Linked DNA regions of Homo sapiens: all the other regions are linked to region 1. Evidence: promoter capture Hi-C in 16 types of primary human blood cells and fetal thymus (Javierre and others, 2016). All regions are on one chromosome and are shown on one strand. The core of a region is centred on a gene start or on the middle of the fragment in contact, and the rest is flanking DNA. Distances in the headings are between cores, read along the strand shown. Region 1 holds the start of SLC18B1 (solute carrier family 18 member B1). Region 2 overlaps LOC124901408 (a long non-coding RNA gene). Region 3 overlaps BCLAF1 (BCL2 associated transcription factor 1).

Region 1 (3,802 bases), core at 853-3,352:
AGTTTCACTCTTGTTGCCCAGGCTGGAGCACAATGGTGCTGTCTTGGCTCACCACAACCTCTGCCTCCTAGGTTCAAGCGATTCTCCTGCCTCAGCTTCCCGAGTAGCTGGGACTACAGGCATGCGCCACCATGCCCAGCTAATTTTGTATTTTTAGTAGAGACAGGGTTTCTCCATGTTGGTCAGCCTGGTCTCAAACTCTCGACCTCAGGTGATTTGCCTGCCTCGGCCTCCCAAAGTGCTAGGATTACAGGCGTGAGCCACAGCACCTGGCTTAGAGTGGAACTTTCTGTTCAGAGTGGTTCTCTAGGTTCTCCTTTACAACTTGCCCACTGGGGAATTTTTTTTTTTTTTTTTTTGAGATGGAGTCTCGCTCGGTTGCCCAGGCTGGAGTGCAATGGCATGATCTCTGCTCACTGCAACCTCCGAGTCCCAGGTTCAAGCGATTCTCCTGCCTCAGTCTCCTGAGTAGCTGGGTGCCATCATGCCCAGCTAATTTTTGTATTTTTGTAGAGACGGGGTTTCACCGTGTTGGTCAGGCAGGTCTCGAACTTCTGACCTCGTGACCCGCCCACCTCGGCCTCCCAAAGTGCTGGGATTACAGGCGTGAGCCACCGCGCCCGGCCCTCACTGGGGAGTTTTTACATAACCTTCAAGAACCAAGGTAACATCACTTCCTCAGGAAGTCATCCAGGACCCATTTGCCAAAGTAAATGGTTCTTCCAATATGTTTGTATACAACCGATTGCATTATAGTAGATTATTAATTAGTGTGAATTTCATCTGCTAGAAGGTGTGCTACTTGAGGGCAGAGTCTGGATGGGGCTCATTCCTCTTTAAATTCATAATGCCTGGCACAAAGTGGTAACTCAGTCTTTTGTTTTGCTTTGGCTTCAAAACAAGAATTTCCCAGTCCTTAAACTTTATTTATTTATTTGAGACAGAGTTTCGCTTTTTCACCCAGGCTGGAATGAGGTGGCACAGTAATTACAAACTTACTATCAGCCATACTGTGTACTGGAACTGACCTTGTACAGTGGATCTGAGGCAGATTCTCAGTCGATAAAGCTACCCTCACACAATTCTTTTGGATCTTGGCTCACTGTAACCTCCGCCTCCCAGGTTCAAACGATTCTCCTGCCTCAGCCTCCCTAGTAGCTGGGATTACAGGTGCCTGCCACCACGCCTGGCTGATTTTTTTGTATTTTTATAGTAGAGACAGGGTTTCACCATGTTGGCCGGGCTGGTCTAGAACTCCTGACCTCAGGTGAGCTGCCCACCTCGGCCTCCCAAACTGCTGGGATTACAGGCATGAGCCACCGTGTCCAGCCAGTCCTCGAGCTTTAACACTTCCCAAATAGTAAATACGGTGAAAATAAGTGAAACCTATTTTTTATGCAAGAAAACTGTGAGTGTGAGAGTAAGGTAGCAGCCATCATGTTCATGTGCTAACTACTAACACACTTTATCGCCAATGCTCACAGCCGCCCTACGAGATAAACATTATAATCTCAGTTGTACAGGTAGAGAAACTGACCTTGTCATCCAAAGTTACACACTGCCAGCAAGTGCCCTGGCTTGAATCCCTGGCACCTGCCTCCAGAGGTCGCACTCCTAGCCACTTCGCCATGCTTCCTCGATATTCATTAGTATTCTTGCAAATATTTTTCGACTCCAGGTGCTTCACATAGGTTAATTCATTTCCGGTTCAATAGTGTCTGGCTTCAGTAATTACGAACACTACCGCATTTACCCACTGTGAAAAATAATTCACTCTTTCAAAGTTCCTGTATAACCTAATTTTCTAATTCACTTTTGTGTCTTTCAGTTGAGGTACTCCCTGCCTTTTCTGTGTCTACATAAGCTTCCTTTCTTTCGTTTCGTAGGAATAAATTGAACTTATTTTAAGATTGAGGGGGGTACAGCTGTATGGAATATAGACTCATCTTTTTTCACTCTCTGTCACAGAATGAAAAAGGACACCATGATATAGCAGCTGAGGTGGTGGATTAAGATAATGAGGCGGGGGGGGGGCGCAAAACAAAAAAAAAAGGAGCCTTGCTCCACCCCTGCCCCGCCCCCGGCCTCCTCCCGGGGACCCAGAGTCCTGGAAGGCTTTGGGGAGCTCCGGGCCGGGCGGATCGCTGCCTGCAGGGAGTCGGGGATGCCAGGTTCCAGCTGAGCAGCGGCCGCCCGCCAGAGTGCCAGTGGCTCCTTGGAGGTCGAGTCCAAGGACGTGGCTTGAAGCCGGGAGCTGGGGCGCCGGAGTCCACGCACCGGGGATGGAGGCGCTGGGTGACCTGGAGGGACCACGCGCACCAGGAGGTGACCATGAATTGCGTGGCCGGGAGCCCGGAGACCAGCGGCGGCTTCCGGCGTGTCTCTTTAGCAACGATTGAATTGCTTATAGCTTGATCTGTTTCCGAGAGATTGGAAAAGGCTGGGGCCTGATCGTGGGGTTCGGGCCAGCGTTTCTTTTCTCTCTGGACGGGGTAAAGTTCCAGGATTGGATATGTGTCACGGTTTCTAATGACTTTCTAACCTATACCTCTGCTTTTTAAGTACTGTGTGTTTAATGCATTCAAATAAGTATGCCATTAGGCAAATGTAAAACGTTACCTTTCAAGTACCCATTGTTGTTGCCTTTCTTTTTAACTTTCATTTCCCTTTCTCATCTACTACAAACATTTTACAAAGATTCGTAAGACTTCCTCATGTTGCACTGATTTTTTTTTTCCTTCTGGACTGCAATGGCAACCTCTGACAAATAGAGCAAAGCAAATGTATTTCTCTTAAGTTTTTCCTAAAAACAATTTAATTTATAAATGGCTGATGGATTTGCTTGGATATTTGGAACTCAGTAATTGATTTCGTGTTTTTAAATGACAATTTAGCCCTGGAAATAAGTGTTAAATTAACTGATGTAAAAGACCAGTAATTAGGGTAAAAAAAAAGTATTTATTTATGAATTTGTGGGACTTGTCTATCCAGAAGCATACCGCTGTAAATATTAATTCACCAGCTGAATGATTTAGCTTGTTTTCTCCTACTTACACTTCATTTGACTTCAATACTGCCTTAGAAATCTTTGTTTTTTGTTTTTGTTTTTGTTTTTGTTTGTTTGTTTTGTTTTGCTTTTTTGAGACGGAGTCTCTCTCTGTAGCCCAGGCTGGAGTGCAGTGGTGCGATCTTGGCTCACTGCAAGCTCCGCCTCCCGGGTTCACGCCATTCTCCTGCCTCAGCCTCCCGAGTAGCTGGGATACAGGGGCCCGCCACCACGCCCGGCTAATTTTTTGTATTTTTAGTAGAGACGGGGTTTCACCGTGTTAGCCAGGATGGTCTCGATCTCCTGACCTCGTGATCCGCCTGCCTCGGCCTCCCAAAGTTCTGGGATTACAGGCGTGAGCCACCGTGCCCAGCCGAAAGCAGTACGTTTTCAAAACGGCAGTAATGTACAAGGATTGTGTTCCATTTGATCAAATGTGCTATATTCAAAATAGCCCTAAGCTTAGCAAATGATATCTTCAGAGTGCAACATATGTGCACAGAAATCACATTTGTGTACTTTAATCAGTAGTCTCAATTATATGCCTAATTGCTGCATGTTTGCATTCAAGGTGATGATCCTGCAGGAAGTGCAGGAGAGACCCCCGGGTGGCTTTCGAGAGAACAGGTTTTTGTACTGATATCGGCAGCTTCGGTGAACTTAGGTTCCATGATGTGCTATTCTATACTTGGACCGTTTTTCCCCAAAGAGGTAAGACATTTTTAAATCCTTAGGACCTCTGTTTTTTTGTTTGTT
Region 2 (3,802 bases), core at 688-3,187, 3.5 Mb before region 1:
CCAGCTTAGCTGGGTGGTTGCGGCTCAGGGTATCTCACAAGGCTACAATCAAGATGCCAACTAAATAGGCAGTCATCTGGAGGCATTACCTGGGGAAAGGTCCACTTCCAAGCTCACTCAAATGGCTATTGGCAAGCTTCAGTTCTTTGTCATATTGACCTCTCCACAGACTCATGGAGTCACTCTCCACAACCTCTCAGTTATCTCAGGACATAGCAGTTCACTTCCCCTGTAGCAAGTGCTCGAAGAGAGGGTACAGAACATAGATTCAGTACACTTAATCTCAGAAATGACATCCCATCATTTCTGCCATATTCTGTTACTGGAAGGGGATTACACAAGGGTACGAATGCCAGGAAACCAGGATCACTGGGAGCTACCGTAAAGGTTAAGATAATATGCTTTTTAAAAAATACATTAAAGTAGAGGATCTAGAGGCGGGTATACAACTACTATAATTTTGAAAGCATTCCAAGTAGAAACAACTCTTTGAAAGATCTACAAAACAATTTTTTTTTTTTCTGCAACGGAGTCTCGCTGTGGCTCTGTTGCCCAGGCTGGAGTGCGGTGGTGCCATCTCAGCTCACTGCAAACTCTGCCTCCCGGGTTCAAGTGGTTCTTCTGCCTCAGCCTCCCGAGTAGCTGGGACTACAGGCATGCGCCACCACATCTGGCTAATTTTTGTATTTTTAGTAGAGACAGGATTTCACCATATTGGCCAGGCTGGTTTCCAACTCCTCACCTTGTGATCTGCCCGCCTTGGCCTCCCAAAGTGCTGGGATTACAGGCATGAGCCACCATGCCTGGCCTAACAGTAATGATTTTTTAAAAATCGGTGATTTTTATTTATTACAAAGTCATAAGTACTGGTAATACTTCTGTGGTTTTGCCTACATTCATAATTAAGGGAAATGATAAATTTCAGTTTGAAGTTAACAAGGATGTAATTTTTATTTATTTTTTTTTTTTTGAGACAGAGTCTCTTTCTGTTGCCCAGGCTGGCGTGCAGTGGCACGATCTCGGCTCACTGCAACCTCTGCCTCCTGGGTTCAAGTGATTCTCCTGCCTCAGCCTCCCGAGTAGTTGGGATTACAGGTGCCTGCCACCATTTCTGGCTATTTTTTAAATATTTTTAGTAGAGATGGAGTTTCACCATGTTGACCAGGCTGGTCTCAAATTCCTGACCTCAGGTAATCCGCCCGCCTTGTCCTGCCAAAGTGCGGGGATTGCAGGCGTGAGCCACCACGCCCGGCCCCAACAGGGATGTAATTTTTCCCATACAAATATAGCGACATCTCTGGGAGGTTGGGAGAGGTGTGAGGGATACAAGACTACATACTGGGTACAGTGTACACTGCTTGGGTGATGGGTGCACTAAAATCTCAGAATTCACCATTGAAGAATTCATCCATGTAACCAAAAACCACCGGTACCCAAAAAACTATTGAATTAAAAACAACAACAACAACAACAACAAATTATAGTGACAGGTCTGAATTCTATCCACGGATTCTTTGGGAATTGGTAGACCCCTGAGTTCTATCCATGGAGTCACAAGATGGCTTAGGGCCCTGAATCACTGCATGGAGAAAATACTTACCAACCTAATTCAACTGTCTTGGACTGTTTGAGAAAAAGCTTCTATTGCATGTAAGTCATTATGTATTCCGGAGTCTATTTGTTACCACAGCCTAGTTTATACTATCTTTGCCAATGTACATTTGCTAATTACTGTATTATTACTACTGTCTTCACTTTGTCCTTCAACATACATTTTTGAGTAAAATGTCAATTTCCCTTTGTGTTAAATTTCATATATGTATCTATTATTATAGAGCATCTCATACCACTAGCAAGTAATAAATTGTATTGAATATGTATCAAAGACATATGGAGACTAAATTATATTTTTCCAGGGACTTTTACTCTTTTTTTCTTCCAATTTTCAGTTTTATGCACCAGATGGTTGTCAGCTGGATCACTATGAATAAATTATAAATGGCCAATAACAATAAATATTTGTATAGTTCCTGCTCCTGAGCAATTTTTAAGCATGTGAATGAATTTGTTTTCAAACAGTAAGCATCTCATCATGGAGTGAATAGATCATCTCACATGCCATTGACAGAAATATCTCCCTGGAATATATAACAAAGAATGAATGTGTTTAGGAAAAGCTACTGGATGGGCTTGTGTGGGTAGAAATTAACCTCATTACAGTACAAAGTTAAGCTTAATAATGTAGATTAAAAAATAATGGCACAAATACTAGAAACACAAAGTCAGGTCTGTGCTTTCACTATACTCTCTAAAATGGAACTTAAGAAATCAGCCAGTGGTGCTTTTAACATAATTAGCCAGACCCTAATATGACAAATAGAACTTTGAAAAATAACTGTCTTGCAAAGGATTAAGCCATTTTTAGATCTATCTATCACAGTTGGTTGGAATTCAGTGTAAAGTTTCCTTTTAAATGGAAGCAAACAATTTTATATATGTTTTTCTCTTGTTGAACCAAGTACTCCCCTTCATTGCTCGACAGAAGATTCATGAAGCTAAAAGAGGACTATAGAGCACTCTAGGAAAAAAAAACCCCAAAATCCCACAAAAACAAATCTAAAAGATTCTCTCTGGAAGCAAATATTCTCCTAGCAGCAGTTTATAATTAGGCTTATCAAGATTGTGATTTAGTAATGGATATTTTATTATGTATATATGTATGTTTGTATTTTTTAGAGGTAGGTTCTCTCTCTGTCACCCAGGTTGGAGTACAGTGGCTCACACAGTTCAAATTCTGGGTGTAAGTAATCCTCCCTCTTCGGCTTCCTAAAGTGATGGGATTACAGGCATGAGACACCATACCCATCCTTATTCTTCTTGTTTATTAAATGAGAGCTTTTACGCTTGATTTGGAAGAACCACACACACACACACACACACACACACACACACACAAACTTGCTGGGCGAGGTGGCTCACGCTTGTAATCCCAGCACTTTGGGAGGCCGAGGTTGGCAAATCACCTGAGGTCAGGAATTTGAGAACAGCCCGGCCAACATGGTGAAACCCCGTCTCTACTAAAAATACAAAAATTTGCCAGGCGTGGTGGTGCATGCCTGTAATTCCAGCTACTTGGGGGGCAGAGGCAGGAGAATTGCTTGAACCTGGGAGGTGGAGGTTGCAGTGAGCTGAGATCGTGCCACTGCACTCCAGCCTGGGCAACAGAGCGAGACTCTGTCTCAAAAAACAAAAACAAGACCTCTCAGTTTTTAGGTCTTCATTATCTTACACAATTCAAATAAAATTCAATGGTCTACATTTTTAAAAGTTTTTTGATATTAATATTATGAAAGTAATTTTTATTGTAGAAATTTTAGAAAATACAGAAGAGCAAAGGAAGAAAATGTTTTAAAAATTGCCAGTGATGTGGCCATTCAATATATACACAGAACAGTATCATTTTGAGGTTGATTCTTCTGTTTCTACATAGATAGATAAATTTTTAAATGAGATTTTTAAAATGACTTATTTATTTATTTTTAGAGATAGTCTCCCTATGTCACCCAGGCTGGAGTGCAACTTCAAGGGACCCTAAGCCAGAACCACCCAAATAATCACTCTCAGATTTCTGATCCACAGGAGCTGTGAGATAGTAAACATTAAGCTGGTAAATTTGGGGTCATTCATTACGCAGCAGTAGACAACCAATACATTTGATTTCACTTATTTCCTACTTCATAGGCTGTTCTCAGTCTCCTTTATTGGCTCCGCCTCCTCTTTTAACAAATCTCTAAATGTTGGG
Region 3 (3,802 bases), core at 798-3,297, 3.5 Mb before region 1:
TCGTTTTATTTTTAAAATTGGATCTTGGTAAGAGTTACAGATTTCCATTTAAACTTGTTCATGAATTCTTTGAGTGCTGATGTATATTAATCTTGTATTCCTTAGTTTCTGTTCGCCTGGTGCTTTTGACTATCCTTTGCACATACTTGATGTGAATATACATAAAGCTAAACTTTTCAGTATTGGTAACTTGAATATTTTGTGCAAAGTTTATTTACAGATTAATGATAAATTATTTTAGGAAGAATATTGACTTTCAGTAGATAAAAGTTTCATTGCTGACTGTTCTTTTATTTGAATGTAGACGTATCAAGATGCTTTTAGGCACAGAATTTAAAGTTACTATGATGGCTGTTAACGTGGATTTAAAAATCAGTTTCACATGAAACTAAATTGTGTGAAAGGAAGTACCAAAAGAGAATAAGTAGCAGAGCATTAAACTCATATTTTAGATGTTATAAAGTAGAGCATTATGAAAATTAACTACAGATTACCTTTTTTTTTTTTTTTTTTTTTTTTTTGAGATGGGGTCGTGCTGTGTTGCCAAGGCTAGAGTGTGTTGCCAAGGCTAGTCACAGGTGTGATCACAGTGCATTGCAGTGTCAAACTCCTGGGCTCAAGTGATCCTTCTGCATCAGCCTCCCAAGTAGCTGGGACTACAGGCTTGTGCTACCTTGCCCCGCTACCAAGATGGCATTATGTTAGCTACGTTGGAATTTTCTGATGGAACGACATATCATATGTTTTTTAAGGCTCAAATTACTAAAATTAGAATTCAAGTAGTTAAAAAGATGCTGTCAGTTTCATGATACGCTACTGCATTGTGGTTTACAAAAAAGTTGAATTTTAAGCTTTTACGGTTAAAAGTTTCCTATTTCCTGAATTAGTTTTTCCTTCCCTGAAATTGTAAGTGCGTTTATTAGAGTTTATGGCAGTGCCCATTATATGCATTGTAAATAATGGTTATTTAATTTAACATAAATCACAATAATGGTTTTTTTGTCTTTGCTAGGAATTCGAATTTAGAGTTTAATTTCTCAGAGCATTCTCTCCAGGAAGAATTTTTACAGTATCTCAAAGACTTCACTTGACTTCTTGATCCTGCATAAAACCAAGGTAAAAGAGCATTCATTTTTCTAGTTTTCACTTTTGACTTTTTTGAGGAAATGTCACTACTGAATTGATGATTCAGATGGAGTGATTAAAAATGATGTGGTCCGAAGCTTTGTTTTTTGTTTATTTTGGTGGCTTGTATGAAGTAAGTCAGATGTTAAGTTAGTTTTAGGAAAAAGGTTCTTTTTCTGTCTTCTTCCAGGTTGTGCTCCTGCTTTTTCTATTTCTATAAACACATCTACTAAAAGACTCAGGACATACAAGATAGAAAGACTGCTACTTAACCCATTTCCCTAATGTAAACAAGAGGAGATTCATAACTTGTTTCTCTCTACTGTAGTGTTTAGGTAATTCAAATTGATTGCTAATGTGTTAGATGTATTAAGTGAATTAAGTTCATCAACTCATTAAGTCCACTACAAGTCTGTGAAGTAGGTACTGTTATTTTCTTCGTTTTACAGTTGAGGAACAGGCTCAGAGAGCTTAAGGAATTTGAATTCATGTAGTTTAAATGCAGAGACCATGTTCTTAGCTTTTTCCCTGTTTTTGCAGTAGAGCAGAAGATATCAATCCATTTCTTTTGGACTGCTAACTATTTGATAGGCATGCTTTCTTTCCGTTAGTTTTTGAAGTTTCAGGTGTAGCTTAAAGCAAAACGCAAACCTTTAAAAATGAACTTGCTGCTTTAAAAAATGTCCAGGTTCTGGGGAATGCATTCATTTTATAGTTATTTATTAAATACCTGTTGTGCTCGTGTGCCACAAGCCCAGCTACATCCTGGTGACTGAAAAAGCCTACAGAATTCCTGAATCCTTTAACAGAAATTACCATCCAAAAAGCCTCAAGAGCAAAGAACAGAGATTCTGGAGATACAGCACAACACAGCATCTGTAGCTCTTAGTAAAATAGTGTTTTATTTACTGATTAGTACAATGAAAAAGGATGTTGTCTTATTGCTGGACTGGATCTCCAAAATCATTTGCAGCTCTGGTTTCTTTTTATAGTGTGTCTGATTATCTCAGAGTGGGATAAAAATAAATATCTTGAAGTAAATTCGATCAGAATGAATGTAAATTACGTATTTATATTCTTTTAAAAACTTTGGGAGGGACAGAATTTTGAAATCAGATGCAAGAGAATGTCACAGTTCCCCGTGGCCAAGATTCCTTCCTTTACAGGCTGTAAATGTGGTTTTTGCCAATTTCATTATGTTGTCAAAACTACAGTTGCTAAACCAAATTTGTGTTCTACAAGGTGTCAGATCTCCTTATGTTAATGCTAAATTTATTTCTTATGTGTTGTGGAATTCTTACTTTGCCTTTTTGAACCCTGAACCTATGTTTTGTTTCTGTCTTTATGTATTTCTTGCTTACTTGGGATTGAGAAGAAGAGTGAGAGAAGACAAAGGTGGTAGTCTATTAGAGGATAGTTATGTTTTATTTTGAAATAAGCATTTATCTCAAACATCTTGAATTTGTTATTTATATTGCTTGATGAGGAACTATCCAAGTATTACCATTACTTCTTCTATAACTGAACTCATCTTAGTACCTCCAAATACTATTTTATTATACCGAACAAAGTCTAGGTAGGTAAAAAAGTGCCTTCAAAAATACTTGGTTGTAGGAGATACTATTTAAGTATTATGGGAATTGCAAGGTGTTAGAAGTTTAGTAAGTTGATTTTTATTGAAATGAATACTTTTTGAGTAAGTTAGTGTAAATTTGGAAATAGTTCTATGCAGCAAAAACAAGCTTGAGAGGCTAAGATATAATCTAATCATTGAAAAGTTGAAAATGTGACATTTGGGATATGCATGCAGTGATTTGCTATATGTGTATGTTTTTTCAATTAGTAGATCTTATAAATCAATTAGTTTTGACAGTTACTGATTTCTGTACCCAATGAGGTCTAATTATAGCATTGGATACCATGTAGTGTTTAGAAAAGTTAAACTACTGGTGCCCAAGTTTTTTTTTTCTTGTAGTTCTAATAAATCTTTCTTGAAGTAATCCCTCCAATTCTTTATCTTTTATTCTTTTTAAATCTTCTTAACAGAAAGCTTCAGGGTGAACTAGGCATTGTCACATAAGTCCACTTTATTCTGGAGTCATGAGTACTGAGAGCAGAGCCATGGCTCCAGCTGTTTAGAAACTTAGTGTCCTGTATTGTTCTAGGATACTATCTAGTACCACTCCAGACAGGATTGTGTATATGGAGTGGTCAGTTCAGTCTCATTTTCAAGGCCATAAAGCACTATGATAACAGCCTGGTAGGTTTATTTTTTGTTAGTATTGTGACACTTTATTTTATTTCAGTTGCCTTATCTGTAGTACCTTTATTATTTATCTTTCTTACAGGAGGGGTAGGCATTTGTATTGGGCGTGGAATAACACATAACATGCTGCTGCAGTCTCATTGCTTTTTCTGGCTTCTGCAGCTGCTGCCTTTTAGGATTGAGGCTCATAAGTGGGGCAGTCCGTAAAAATCTTCAGTTGTGTCTTTAATCGACAGTACCTGTCATGCAGGTGAAAACAGTTTTAGTCAGGGATAATTGACTTGTCTTCTGAATACTGATTTGAAAAGGATGGTGAATAATAGCCTTTGAGAAACTTGTAAAAATCAAATTTTATCTGAAAATAAGTAATAATGTAAAATTTTAAATATCATATTGTAATTTTAACCTTTT

What was found. The method cuts DNA at HindIII sites, captures the fragments that hold promoters and counts their contacts. A CHiCAGO score of 5 or more calls a contact.
Region 2: a contact is called between a fragment that was not itself captured here and the fragment with the promoter of SLC18B1 in region 1, in 1 of 17 cell types (non-activated CD4 T cells). The highest score is 8.8, in non-activated CD4 T cells.
Region 3: a contact is called between a fragment that was not itself captured here and the fragment with the promoter of SLC18B1 in region 1, in 1 of 17 cell types (total CD8 T cells). The highest score is 6.6, in total CD8 T cells.

The regions. Positions count from the first base shown.
Region 1 is chr6:132,796,937-132,800,738 of GRCh38, reverse strand. It overlaps SLC18B1 (solute carrier family 18 member B1), which reads left to right and starts at 2,102. Exons shown (of 14, transcript NM_052831.3): 1 at 2,102-2,325; 2 at 3,618-3,757. The coding sequence starts at 2,283. RefSeq lists a silencer at 2,035-2,084 and an enhancer at 3,316-3,802. The HindIII fragment of the contact is 1,643 bases long and covers 1,867-3,509 here.
Region 2 is chr6:136,297,576-136,301,377 of GRCh38, reverse strand. LOC124901408 (a long non-coding RNA gene) reads right to left here. Exons shown (of 4, transcript XR_007059784.1): 3 at 90-241. Among named protein-coding and RNA genes, the nearest start is that of BCLAF1, 9.6 kb to the right of the region's middle. The HindIII fragment of the contact is 594 bases long and covers 1,641-2,234 here.
Region 3 is chr6:136,279,898-136,283,699 of GRCh38, reverse strand. It overlaps BCLAF1 (BCL2 associated transcription factor 1), which reads left to right. Exons shown (of 13, transcript NM_014739.3): 2 at 1,013-1,116. Among named protein-coding and RNA genes, the nearest start is that of BCLAF1, 8.0 kb to the left of the region's middle. The HindIII fragment of the contact is 1,644 bases long and covers 1,226-2,869 here.